Regions from separate parts of the Homo sapiens genome. Here regions 2 and 3 are each linked to region 1. Evidence: promoter capture Hi-C in human tissues and cell types (Jung and others, 2019). All regions are on one chromosome and are shown on one strand. The core of a region is centred on a gene start or on the middle of the fragment in contact, and the rest is flanking DNA. Distances in the headings are between cores, read along the strand shown. Region 1 holds the start of FAT4 (FAT atypical cadherin 4). Region 2 has its middle 150 kb from the start of MIR2054. Region 3 has its middle 250 kb from the start of LINC02379.

Evidence for each region. Contacts are between HindIII fragments. The study calls those that stand out against the background at their distance.
Region 2: a contact is called between a fragment that was not itself captured here and the fragment with the promoter of FAT4 in region 1, in 1 of the 25 tissues and cell types used here (mesendoderm cells).
Region 3: a fragment that was not itself captured here is called in contact with the fragment with the promoter of FAT4 in region 1 in 1 of the 25 tissues and cell types used here (H1 embryonic stem cells).

Annotation. Positions count from the first base shown.
Region 1 is chr4:125,313,050-125,317,996 of GRCh38, reverse strand. It overlaps FAT4 (FAT atypical cadherin 4), which reads right to left and starts at 3,042. Exons shown (of 18, transcript NM_001291303.3): 1 at 2,020-3,042; 2 at 1-1,597. The coding sequence starts at 1,585. The HindIII fragment of the contact is 10,793 bases long and covers 1-4,947 here.
Region 2 is chr4:125,650,077-125,654,510 of GRCh38, reverse strand. No RefSeq gene overlaps it. Among named protein-coding and RNA genes, the nearest start is that of MIR2054, 150 kb to the right of the region's middle. The HindIII fragment of the contact is 5,175 bases long and covers 534-4,434 here.
Region 3 is chr4:125,814,818-125,819,272 of GRCh38, reverse strand. No RefSeq gene overlaps it. Among named protein-coding and RNA genes, the nearest start is that of LINC02379, 250 kb to the left of the region's middle. The HindIII fragment of the contact is 4,423 bases long and covers 1-3,959 here.

The sequences.
Region 1 (4,947 bases), core at 1,793-4,292:
TATGTTCACTGATATGGAACCATCCCAGTCCATTGCCAGAGACAATGCTGTAACGCAGATTAGCATTGAGACCAGAGTCGCCATCAGTGGCAGATATCCCACTCACATAGCTTCCCGGAGGCGCCTCCTCGCTCAGGTTCACTCTGTACACTTGCTGTGAAAAGACAGGAGGATGGTCATTGATGTCATTAACAAAAATCACCAGGCTTGCCACAGAAGAGCGCGCCTGGACTGCTGCGCCAGGGGGCGCCCCGTAGTTATCAGAGACGGAAACTGTGAGGTTGTAGGAAGGGATGCGCTCGCGGTCCAAGGCGCTGGCCACCTTGATTAGGCTCAGGTTCGGCACTTTGCTGCTTTGCACTTCAAAGTGGCGCTGCTCATTGCCCCCGAGAATTTGCACGGAGATGTTCCCGTTGGCCGCGGGAGAATCTGCGTCCGTCACGGTGAGCAGAGCCACCACGGTGCCCACTTGAGCATTCTCATCTACCGAGGCGTAGCGCGAGGTGGCCGGGAAGTAGCGGAACTTCACTACCGGGTCATTGTCATTCACGTCCAGCAGCTGAATCAGCGCCTCGGCGCGCCCAGTGAGGGAAGGCACGCCTCTGTCCATCGCCTGCACCGTAAGCGAGTATTGGCGCCGAGCTTCGAAGTCCAGGGGCTCCCGCACCGTGATAAGTCCCGTCTCAGGGTCCATTTGGAAGGGGGTCCCCTCGTCCTGCAGGCGATAGCGGATGTCCGCGTTGGTGCCCTCGTCCGCGTCCGCCGCCGCCACCTGGAGGACGCTGGAACCCACAACCGCGTCCTCAGGCACCCCCGCCTGGTAGTGAGAACTGCCAAAAACCGGGGGGTTGTCATTAATGTCTTGCACAGTCACGTTTACCTGAAGGTAGCCCCGCCGCTTAGGCTCACCCTTGTCCTCCACCTCAACCAGGAGCTGGTACTGCGGAGTGACCTCACGGTCCAGTCCGCCCTTGGACACCAGATGCAGGAACGCTCCCTCGCCGCTCGGGTTCAGGGTGATGTCCAGACGGAAGCGCCCCGCCTCATTGCCGCGGATGATGCGGTAGGAGCGGTGGTCCACACCGTTTGAGCCGATGTCCGAGTCGGTGGCGGTGTCTAAGATGACTTGGCGTCCGCTGCTACTGTCTTCCTTGAAAGTGACCACGATAGAGGGGTCCGGGAAAACGGGGGCGTTGTCATTGAGGTCCCGCACCAGCACTCGCACTTCGGTGGGGTAGGTGGGCGCGCTGGAAAGGACCACCAGGTTGATCACGTCGCTGGGCAGGCTCTCGCGGTCGATGGTGGAGGTGGTGTACAGGGCTCCGGTGCTACTGTTTATGGCAAACAGGGCGTGGCTTTCGCTGAGCCTGTAGGTGAAGCCGGGGCGCGTCTGGATGGTGCCTACCAGAGTGCCTGGAGGTTGCTCTTCCAGCACTTGGAACACCTGGCGCGGCTCGGCCCCGTGGACCCAGGCCTGCCCCGGAAGCAATGACAGTAGCCAAAACACTCGAAGGAGCTGAGATACTGATAGAGTGTGCAACGGGAGCCACGGGCGGCCAGTAGCCCTGTCTGGTGCTAAGTCCATGGTCCTGGCTCCCTAAAACGATGTGATAAAGAGAAGGAAGGGGTGAAGCAAACGCAATGATATTTACAGGGATTAAGGAGCGCCAGCAAAGATTCAGCTGACGGCTTGGTCTGAGACCTCTGCTATTTCAAAGAACCTCCAGTCCGGCAAAAGCAAGTAGCATCAGCAAAAGACTCTAGGTAGCCAGTTGAACGCGGAGTGCAAGAGAGATGCTGTGGCGAAAAGCGGCAGGGCATTCCGCGGGACACTCCTGTGAGCTGAGTTCCCAGAAAAGTTTCTCAAGCCTCTTATATATGCCCCCTTTTACTTTGTTTTTGAATCCAGATAGTCTGAGCGTTTTCACCCGGGTGGATGAGAGTTGGGAGAAGTTGCCTGTATCTAAGGTATATGAGGAATCATTGCAAAGAACGGTCTTCAGAAACTTTAGAACTTACCCGCAGCGAAGAACGTGAAGAGGGAGGAACAAACGTCCAAGCACAACTGCGCACCGGGGAAGGGGTGGTGGGGAACCGGGAGAATCGAATTTCTTTCCCAAAAGCTGGAGGCGATGGAATTCCTGGAGTCCCCACTCCTCAAAAACCAGGCTGCAACGCCCCTCCAACAGGGCGCCGGCAGTGGCCGCTGAGGCCCAGGCGGCGGCGTCTGCGCGCAGGCAGTTCGGGAACTGCGTTCCAAGCGCTAGCGTTCGCGCTCTGGCTCCCGTACCCGGGAGCGCTCAACTCTGCCCCTTCCCCTCCTGCAGCCGCCGCCGCCGCCGCCCCTGTTGCGGCTTCAAGCCCGTGGTCCGGCACAAACAACAGCCAGGGCTCCTCGGCATTTTTCACCTCTGCCGGGGCGCCTGCCGACCCATTATTTGTACATCCAAATCGAACGCAGTTTCCCCTTTCTTCTCGGCCTCGCAGGGGTCGGGCAGAAACAGCGTGCGGTCCCCGAGTCGCCCTCCCCTCACCATGCCAGGGGGGGTCGTTCTCCGGCGGCCCCAGTCAGAAGCCCACTCTAGCGCGCCTCGCCCCTGCCCTCGCTATCTCTGCTTTTATTGTCCCGTGTCAGTTTCACTTTGTAATCCACAAGGCTTTTTGTTTGGGGCGGGGGGTGGTTGATGCCTCTCTCTCCTTCACAGTTGGCAGCGGAGGCGGCGAAGTCGGCGCTGGGCTGTAGTGACGCCCTCCGCAGCTCCGGACGGCGCCTGTCAGCGCTCTCCCTCTCGCCGGCCGGGGCCGAAGGTTGGACTGCGGTGGAGCTAGGGCTCCGCGAGCCCTTCTCCACCTCCCGCCTGGTCCCTCACACTCTCCCCGCCCCTTCCCCGCCGCACAGGCATGCACACACACACACATACACACGCACACACACACACACAGCGCGTCGCCGAAACACAAACAGAGGGGGAGGGAAGACCGCGAGCTGGAGCAGCACTCAGAAACTTTGCTCGACACTCATTGATCCCCGCACTTTAGTTCGCCTGGACTCCCCCTAGCTCCCAGTCCTGTCACCTTCTGCCCCTCCCTCGCCCCAGCCCCATTGGGCCGGAGCTGAAGCAGCCCCGACCGGCACTCCTACCGCGAGCGCCCTCCGCCTTGCCCGGCCTCCGACTGGCTTCTCGGGATGCTAATCACTTCAGCCTCCCGGAGGGCTGTAGGCGGTCTGGTGTGGGAGCACAGCGAGGCGGAGGCGCTAAAAAGGGGGGTGATTTTTTTTCTTTTCTTTTTTTTTTTTTTTTTTCCTTTTCGGCCAAATCTTGGCCGGCGTCAGAGCAATAACAGCAAAAGGCTGCCGCAGAATAGATGGGGGTGGGGTCAGGTTTGCAGATAAATAACTTTAGTGGCAGGGTCTGGGGGAAGACCGTTAGGTTGTTATGCTAGTAATAACTCAGGGGTAAGGGGGTCGAGAGAAATAAAAGAAAGGCGGGGGGTGAGGGTCTGTTAAAGCGGGGAGGAAGGATTAAGCAAAGCCTGTCTGGGAATGCACAGTGCAGATTTGCTTTAACCATTTCCTGCCCCTTCTCTCTTTATGCAAGGGATAGAGCTGCCATACAGTGTGATCCCACAGAATCCAAATCAAATCCTCCCCTTTGCTCCTCTTTCTACACAGTGGGCTCCCTGCTGTCTAGGGCGAGCTAAACTCTAAATCTTCACTCACTTGCCCCTCTCCCCCACCTTCCAGGTGACTAGGGGGCAGGAGGCCTCCGTAGCAAGGGCACTTTGGACTTCCTACTATAGGAAAGGCCAGGGGAACTCAGTGTTTGTTTTGTTTTCTTTCCCAACTGGATTCCAGGTGCCAGTAGCCCAAACCTTAGGGTTTCAACAACAATAATAATGGCAGCCCTTTGAAAAGAGGGAGATCTTTTCCTGTTGCAAAGTTAGTTTGGAATTTTGATCCCTGATGGAGTATTTCCACCTCCACATTTTTTAGTCAAAGGAAACCTAATAAAGTTTTATTTTGCTTTTCAGTCTGGGAGAAATAGATACGAGAAAGTAGAAATAAATAAAATAATATTTAAGCTTAAGTTTTTAAAAATACCCACATGCCACTTAATGCACTCAGATCAACTCACCCACTATTCACTGCAGTTAATTTTTGTGGTGGCATGCATCGTTTCTTTAAAAGAAGAAAAACGTTACTAGGAATCAGATCGATATTTTTCCCCTTTAAGGGAACCAACCTAGAAAATAAGAATTCAAGCCAAACAATGCAAATACAGGGCATATGTCATACATTTCTGCCACAAGGATCCCTCACAAACGTAAAACTTTCTGCGCCCAGAGAGGGTTCAGTCATGAGTAAATACTGCCCTCTGCTGTTCTACGTCAGTCTTACATCTTTAGTCTCCTGGTTTCTTGCTTAAAATTAAATGCAGAGACTAAAAGGATCGGATTACAAGGCTAATTCCTGCTTCTTGCCTAGGGATAGCAGCAAAGAAAACGATCTCTAAGACTTTCCTAGTGCCTTTCTTATTTAGAGTAAAAAAAAAAAAATCAAGAATAGTAGGACAGACAGCAAATTCAAGTCTTGATGATGCAGGCAGCCTGTAACTCAAAACTGATTTATGGAAACATGATTTCTAAAGCTATCACCAATTCCTCTGTTTAGGTTAAAAAGCTAACTTCTACATATTCCTCTACTGTAATGTAATGAGTTAACTGGAAACAGACAAAAAAGTTAAATTTAACCATTTATGTATTTTAAAACTTGAAAACATTAGACTCTAGACTTTTTAGAGACATTTAAGCCTGTTTTTCAAAAATCGTATTTTTCTTAAGTTACAATCCTAACACCATTATTTTTGGTATAATTTAGCCAAAAAATATTTGTAGATTAACTAAAGTGGCAAACAAATTTTTACAAATTTTTACAAATCATGTCTG
Region 2 (4,434 bases), core at 1,872-4,371, 340 kb before region 1:
TTGCCAAAATAAAGTTAATTTGATCACTCTAGTTTTGATCTAATTTCCTCACACTCGATAGGTGTGAAATCTAAAAAATAACAGATGAAAAAGTTAAAGATGAAAAAAGAAACTGGGAAAAGCTGCACATAATCCTATTTACTATAATAAAACATAGTGTTAAAAGAGTGGCCTGTTTATTTTTACTTTTCTCACTGAAATACTTAACAGGGAGCATAGCTGCTAGTATTTTCTAAGACCTGAGAATAAGAAATCATTTTGTTTCCTTGAATAAAATTCCATTTCACTTTTATAATAGTTTTGAATGCCAACAGAACACAATTATTTTAAAAATATTGTATATCTGTTTTATAGAGCTATGAACAAATATTTATGCCCATCACTTAGTCATTTATTAAATGACAACTTTAAATGTCACATCATCATTACTATATTATTTCTTTCCAATATAGATAATGAAAACATTTAAAATGATGTTTGCATTCATTCACCAACAATTGGACAGCTCTATTGAATATTTCCTAATTTAACTAAATCAATTTTTTCCAAGCACAATAATAAAGGAATTGATTATCTTATAAAATGTAAATCTATTTTCATATAACCTTCATTTTGTATTTATTTTGCTAATTGCACCACTGCACTTCCACATATCTAGGTTTGAAGCCTATAGCCCCCTGTATTTTTCCCCACATCCAATTATGTACAATGTCTTGTTGCTTCTTGCTTAAAAATACTTCCTGCACTTAATTTTTTCTTTCCACTTCAGCTATTTTATTAATTTAGTTGCTTTATTTTTTAACATAATACCTTGATCATGAAATATCCTTTGAATGGTCCCTTTACTTCCATTTGATCCCTAGTTAGCTGGCCCTTTACCCTCATTCTAGAATTATACTTTTTTATCTTTGGTTACATAGCTTAGTTGAACACTTTACATGGCATATGTCCATAAAAAAAGTCCAAATTTAATATCATCCAAAATCTATCCAGTTCTGTATTTACAAGTTTATCTACAACTATTTATCCAATACAATTATCTAGTCACAAAACATTGTTGTTCACATTTTCTGAACATCTCCCTTATTTCTTTTACACAACCCAGTATCCAGAAGTGGAATGACTTGCATTATCTCAACTCTGAAAATTTGCTCACAGCAGTTTTTTCCCTTGAAATGCCTCTCACAATCCATTTTATAATCCTATCACTTTTGCAGTGCCTTGTTCTGATAATATGCTTTTATGAAGTCTTCTCTAAGAGCCCAGACATAAATGTTTTCCAATGTCCTCTGATCTCTACTTGTACCTTATTTATGGAATTCATACAACACATTATAGACAACTTTGAGAGATGTCTGATCATATTTCCTCTAAGAAACTATTAAGAACTGTGTCTTTTTATATCATCAGTTTCTATGCCTTAACATATAATAAAAACAAACAAAATCGATTTAATATTGTACAATGTCTAATCCCACTAGTCTAGACACACATGTATGAAAAACTCAAAACTAAATTACTATTTCACAGATAAAATTAGTAAAACCAAAAGATGGTAATATCAGCCACATTAACATATCACTGGTTGAGTTGTATTGCAGGGAGAATATTTGTGAAAGGAATTTGGCAATGGTTACTCTAGACTTTAAAACCTAGTGCCTGCAAATTTAAGTTTAATATGGCATCTGGCCAGCATCCACTGGCTCCCTTTTCTAAATTCCTACCAAAACAATTACCAAGACAGGATAAAAAAAGAAAAACACACAGAGATATACACACAAACACACACACACACACACAGACGTTGAAAATTAGGACCAACAGTCAATCAGTTTTCATAATCTTGAAGAAAATCAGACTAATGGTACGGCTGATAAAAATGAATAAAAATAATTTCAATAAATTTCAACTGATTATTGTTACCTTATGCTATACTAAAAGAAACAGCACAAGTCCGTATGAAATGTGTAGGGAGAAGTTGCCTCTTTCTCAACTGGCCTCTCTCTAATTTAGAAACGCAAGAGCTACAGAAAACTACAAATTATGTAACTAAATTATTTTATGGGTGCTCTTAAATACTCTGTTCAAATTGTAAAAGTGCGTCTTTCCCTACATGTAGACAAACTACCACGTCCAGAAAAAGCTCACAAGGAATAGGGAGATGGAGACAGGACCGTTCATAGAAGAACATCTAAAGTATGGCAATCTTAAAGCAAGTGAGAGGTGACAGCGTGCTGGCAGTCCTCACAGCCTTCGCTCGCTCTCGGCACCTCCTCTGCCTGGCCTCCCACTTGGGCGGCACTTGAGGAGCCCTTCAGCCCGCCACTGCACTGTGGGAGCCCCTTTCTGGGCTGGCCAAGGCCGGAGCTGGCTCCCTCAGCTTGCAGGGACGTGTGGAGGGAGAAGCGCCGACGGGAACCGGGGCTGCACGGGGCGCTTGCGGGCCAGCGCGAGTTCCCGGTGGGCGTGGGCTCGGCAGGCCCAGCACTCGGAGTGGCCAGCCGGCTCCGCTGGCCCTGGGCAGTGAGGGGCTTAGCACCTGGGCCAGCAGCTGCTGTGCTCAATTTCTCCCTGGGGGGCCTTAGCTGCCTTCCTTCGGTGCAGGGCTCGGGCTCGGGACCTGCAGCCCGCCATGCCTGAGCCTCCCCCACCTCCATGGGCTCCTGTGTGGCCTTGAGCCTCCCCGACAAGCACTGCCTCCTGCTCCACGGCGCCCAGTCCCATCAACCACCCAAGGGCTGAGGAGTGTGGGCGCACTGCAAGGGACTGGCAGGCAGCTCCACCTGCACCCCCGGTGTGGGATCCACTGGGTGAAGCCAGCTAGGCTCCTGAGCCTGGTGGGGACGTGGAGAACATTTATGTCTAGCTCAGGGATTATAAATGCACCAATTGGCACTCTGTATCTAGCTCAAAGTTTGTAAACACACCAATTGGCACCCTGTGTCTAGCTCAGGGTTTGTGAATGCACCAATCGACACTCTGTATCTAGCTAATCTGGTGGGGACTTGGAGAACCTTTGTGTTTAGCTCAGGGATTGTAAAGGCACCAATCAGCGCCCTGTCAAAACAGACAACTGGGCTCTACCAATCAGCAGGATGTGGGTGGGGCCAGATAACAGAATAAAAGCAGGCTGCACGAGCCAGCAGTGTCAACCCCCTCGGGTACCTTTCCATGCTGTGGAAGCTTTGTACTTTTTCTCTTTGCAATAAATCTTGCTGCTGCTCACTCTTTGGGTCCACGCTGCCTTTATGAGCTGTAACACTCACCGTGAAGGTCTGTAGCTTCGCTCTTGAAGCCAGAGAGACCACGAACCCACCGGGAGGAATGAACAACTCCAGACGTGCCGCCTTAAGAGCCCTAACACTAACCGTGAAGGTCCGCAGCTTTGTTCCTGAGCCGGCGGAGACCGCGAAACCCACCAGAAGGAAAAAACTGCCAACACATCCGAACATCATAAGGAACAAACTCCTGACATACCGCCTTTAAGAACCTTGAGGCGGACATACCGCCTGGAAGTCAGGGAGACCAAGAACCCACCAATTCCGGACACACAAGTACAGGTGCTGAAAGACACCAGGTCTAATTCTATTTTTCCAGAAGCTTTAGCTAGTCTTGTTTTTCAGGCACCTAGGAATTGGAGAATGAAGAAGTCAGCTTTTATCAAGCAGTAATAGATTGTAGCATTGAAAATCTGATTACATGCTAATTTTGCCCAGTGTATATGTGAGAAGAGGGTTTGACTTAAGCCAGGGGAGTGAGTAAGGACTAAACAATCCACCAACATAGTTCTTAACAAATAAACAGAGTCTAAATGAATATCTTTGTTCATGCATGAGTAACAGAAAAATAATAATTAACTGAGTGAATAAATATTGAAAGCTAATAAACAGGGAAATAGGAAATATCATTTTGAATATTCAAAGAACCAGACTGAAAATAATCTGCTTCAGGCAACAGAAGAAAATATTGAAACCTCTAAGCATTGTGAGTAACGTGGACTTCTTTTTTGAAAAAGGGAGAGGGGCGTGGTGGCTCACGCCTGTAATCCCAGCACTTTGGGAGGCCGAGGTGGGCAGATCACGAGGTGGGCAGGAGATGGAGACCATCCTGGCTAATACGGTAAAACCCTGTTTCTACTAAAACTACAAAAAATTAGCTGGGCTTGGTAGCATGCGCCTGTAGTCCCAGTTACTCAGGAGGCTGAGGCAGGGGACTCTCTTGAACCTGGGAGGTGGAGGTTGCAGTGAGCTGAGATCGTGCCACTGTGCTCCAGCCTGGGTGACAAAGCGAGACTACATCTCAGAAAAAAAAAAAAAAAGGCGGGGGGAGAGAATCAATCCAAAATTTATATTACACAGAGCAACTGAAAAGGAAAAGAGGTGAAATAAAGATGAATTGCTAGTAAACTATGCAACAATATCAACCTTGAAGGCT
Region 3 (4,455 bases), core at 499-2,998, 500 kb before region 1:
TTAGAATGCTGGAGTTCGGGCGTAATGAAACTTGGAGGGGGTAATTCTAGGTATATAGAAAAATTATTGCACGTTATAGAGACCATTTGGATGTTTTGAAGGTTATTAGGTGGTAATTACATGTTATCATTAGATACGTCTTATATTTCTCTAGGCATTTACAAGAATGAAATATTTGCCCTTCCTAAATAGGGTCATAGTCTGTGCTTATTTGTAGCCATCAAATAGCTGTCACATCGTGAAAGTTACATTTACATATAAGTTATTTTCAAAGAAACCTAGGGTAAATTTTGCATTTTATTCACTTAATGTCTTTTGAAGTAATTTATATAATGTTTTGTTATTTATGCAGTTTTTAATATATTGTTTTAATTGTTCTTCCAAATAAGCCTGTGGAATTTTTAGAAAATGTAGTTATTTACATTCTGCTGAAGTGAAACAGAATCTTAGAAAGATTAAGTGACATTTAAAATTATGAAGTTTAGATAATTATCAAAGGTAGTGTTGTTCAGTAGATACATATATAATACTAGTCAAAGTGAGAGTCACATGTGTAATTTCAAATTCTTATTAGTCTCATTTTAAAAAGTGAAAAGGAAATTAATACTGTATTTTTCCAACATGTCCACATTATTGTCATTTTAAAATGTGAATCAATGTAATACTATTCATAAGATATTTGACATTCTTTTTTATTCTTAGCAGGTCTTCAAAAATCTAAAGTATATTTTACATATAACACACATCTCAACTTAAGCCAGCTACATCTCAAGAGTTCAATAAATATACACGGCTACTGGCTAACATATTGCACAGCATATATCAATTTCAGCACATATTTGTTCCAGATTCTTAAACAATTGTTTTCCTCTACATAATTAAGTTCCTCTCTTCCTTTTCTACTCTCATGCACCATGATTCTCAGCCAAATGACTGAAGCATCTACTGCAATGGTATAGTTACTTCCTGTATCACCTCATCTATTTTATATTCTGATGCTTGAATTACCTCCCTTATTTGTATATTTGATCACATCACTCCCTGATTTACAGCAGAAACCATCCCCCATTTTGTTTCAATTTGAGATAGGGCTTTTGAATTTTTGAAGTGTTCTCTAGGTAATTTTGATGCACCACTGATTGAATTACCAGAGTAGATACTAATTCCTTTTCAAGCAGTACACTGTGTTAAGTGCTGCCATTATTCTGACCTGTCTGAATACCTTACACTTACCCAGTTAGTGTTGGTTTTGTGACAGCTGGGATTGGTCCTAGCAGAGTTTGACACATAGTGGTATACATGAGTTAACAAAGAAAATGTATTTTTAAAATCTCATAATATATTTCACATGCCAAATTATTTCAGTCAACTGACAATGAAAGAACTATTAAATGCATCCATGTTAGTTTCTGAATAGTTTAACCTAATTGTTCATTAGGTTTTCCCATTAAAAATGAGAAGTAACAGTGTATTTTTACTCAATGGGATATTCTGATATTTGATTACGAAAATTTGATTTATGCACATCTGAACCTGAATTTGTAATTTCTGTTACATTAAAATGTGACATTCAGACATAACAGGTCAACTTATCCATGTTTTTATGTTAAAATGCAGAAAATGAGATTGCTAGAAAAAATTAATACTTTAAAATAAATTACTGTTTTAAATGCATAGATTCTTATAGTCATTGTTAAAATTCTTTATAATGTGGCTAACAATTTATATTCCTTAGCTTGTACACTACAACAAGCATAAATCCCTCTTGGTTATATTTTTATGTGATAAAAGGATTTCCAATTCGTTTTTATTGGAGAAATATACATTTATATATACAGCATTAAAATTAGATTCTTTTGGGTCAAAATTTTAAAAAGAATATTTTACAACCTAAGGGGAAAATATGCCTAAAACACACTATTAGGTTTTCAACTATGATCAAAGTTAAAATAAATAAATGTATCTCTGCAGACATTAAACTGTATCTTCAAGCTGCATACAAAATGAGACCAACCTTAGGGATTTTTTTTCAATATAAAAGACCTCAGTAACAGGATAAAAATGGAAATAGATTTTATATATATATTTCCCAAGGTTTATATTTGATAGCCCTTTATAAAGAATTTGGTAAGATGAAATAAAATGGCAAGATCAAACACACACACAGAGAAACGGATTTCCTGCTATGAAGCATGTAAATTAAGATGATGTAGCAAATGAAAAGCTTTGTTCCTGCGATTCCTTATATCGTGCCTACAGAAAAAAATTAAACATCCAATTTGATTAATATAATCAAATAATTCATATATTTTATTTAAACTAGGCAGAGTGCTTATTTTAAATCTTCTTAAAAATGTTTATCTAAATATTGTGTTTTTTTCCACCAAATTTACTGGAATGGTTTAAACATGTCCTGAGCATTAGAAACCACAGATATTATTTGTACACTGCAACTGCAGTCCTCCAATCTAGCCCTTAACGGTTATGCTCAGGCAACACTGGCATTTAAGTTCCTCAAATTCATCAAAGTCATTCTTACCTTGGGGGCTTTATTTGTATTGTCCCTACTGTCTATAATAGATTTCTTTCCATTCTTGCAAGCTTGGCGGTTTCTTATTCTTGGGTCTCAGCTTAAACATCACTTCTGTAGAAAATCCTTCTTTTATCATCTAAGTTTGGTCTCCTTTTATTTCTATCTTAGTAGTCTATCTATTTCTTTTTACATCTTTTTATAGTTTTTATTTATTTATTTATTTATTTATTTATTTATTGTTGATTACTTGCTTATTTGTTCTTGCCTCTCTCTTTTCCTATGCATGTATGAGGAAAAGTAAATTAGTTATTAATCACTTCACATTAGTGAATAGTAAAGCTTCTGTCACAAAGTTAGTGCCTAATAAATATTTGTCTGATACAAATAAATGAATAAATCACAATATTGTTAACTGACTTAGTTACATGTATTTTTTACCTCTGCTTAAGATTAGTTTTTTAAGGGTTTACAATTTAACTGTAATGATGTGTGAATAATTTATTAAAAGCCAAATGAATCAAACAAGAAATATTTTAAGTCAAAGAATCAAACAAGACATATTTTAATTGCAATGGAGCCTAAGAATTCATGTTAGTGTATGTTTACCAAAATAACCTACAGAAAGTTTCAGATATAGCAAAAGCAAATCTCATGAGATTAACAGGAGTTACCATGAAACTGAAGCTTTGTTAAAAGTGAAAATAAAATAGAAACTTAAATTTTTTCTCTTTTCAATATACAGTTTTATGAAAACACACATTTAAGAAAATGAGATAAGATACTAATAATAAGTAAGGTAAAAAGATGGTACATAAGATTTTTAAAAAGATTTCACAACAAAATTTAACTCTAAAGATATAACATTCGTCTATCCTTAACCACCTGCAGTCTATTCTACTTTTTTTTTTTTTTTTTTTTTTGAGACAGAGTCTCGCTCTGTCGCCCAGGCTGGAGGGCAGTGGCGCGATCTCAGCTCACTGCAAACTCCGCCTCCCGGGTTCACGCCATTCTCCTGCCTCAGCCTCCCAAGTAGCTGGGACTACAGGCGCCCGCCACCACGCCCGGCTTTTTTTTTTGTATTTTTAGTAGAGACGGGGTTTCACCGTGTTAGCCAGGATGGTCTCGATCTCCTGACCTCGTGATCCGCCCGCCTCCGCCTCCCAAAGTGCTGGGATTACAGGCGTGAGCCACCGCGCCCGGCCTATTCTATTCTTTACATAATAGTTTGAGTAATCCTTTTAAAATATGTCTGATCATGTCTCTATTTGTTATGGTTAATTTTATTTGCCAACCTGAATGGAATTTTGGGGTTCCCAGATATCTGGTTAAACATTACGATGGCTGTGTCTGTAAGGATGTTTCTTGTGAGATTAACCCTGGAATCAACAGACTAAGTAAAAAAGTAAATTGGCCTTCCAAATGGGGGCAGGCTTCATCAACCGTTTGAAGCCTAAACAGAAACAAAGGCAAGATGAGAGAGAATTTGCTCACTCTGACTGACAGTTTTCCAGTTGAGACATCAATCTTTTCCTGCACTTGGGCTAGAACTTATACCACTGGCTCTCCTTGTTCTCAGACCTGTATGCTTGGACTGGAATTGTATCACTTGCTCTCTTGGATCTCTAGCTTGCCAATGGCAGATCTACATATGGAGAGAATGTGCTGGATTCCCAATCTGGGTGGAAGGTTCAACCTCTGGAACATATGGTTTAGTCTTTTGTTTAATATCATGGTTCCCGGGAACATTACATAAAAAACAATAGAGAAGTGCTAGCATCTTATATTTGGGTAAAGAAAATAGGAAGAAACCCAAGGGAAAACAAGGAAGTGGTATTTTTACTATTGGCATATTATTACCTGAAATTTAAATACATCCATTAGTAAAATTGTTCACTTTTAGTCTTCCTATTTTGTTAGGGTTC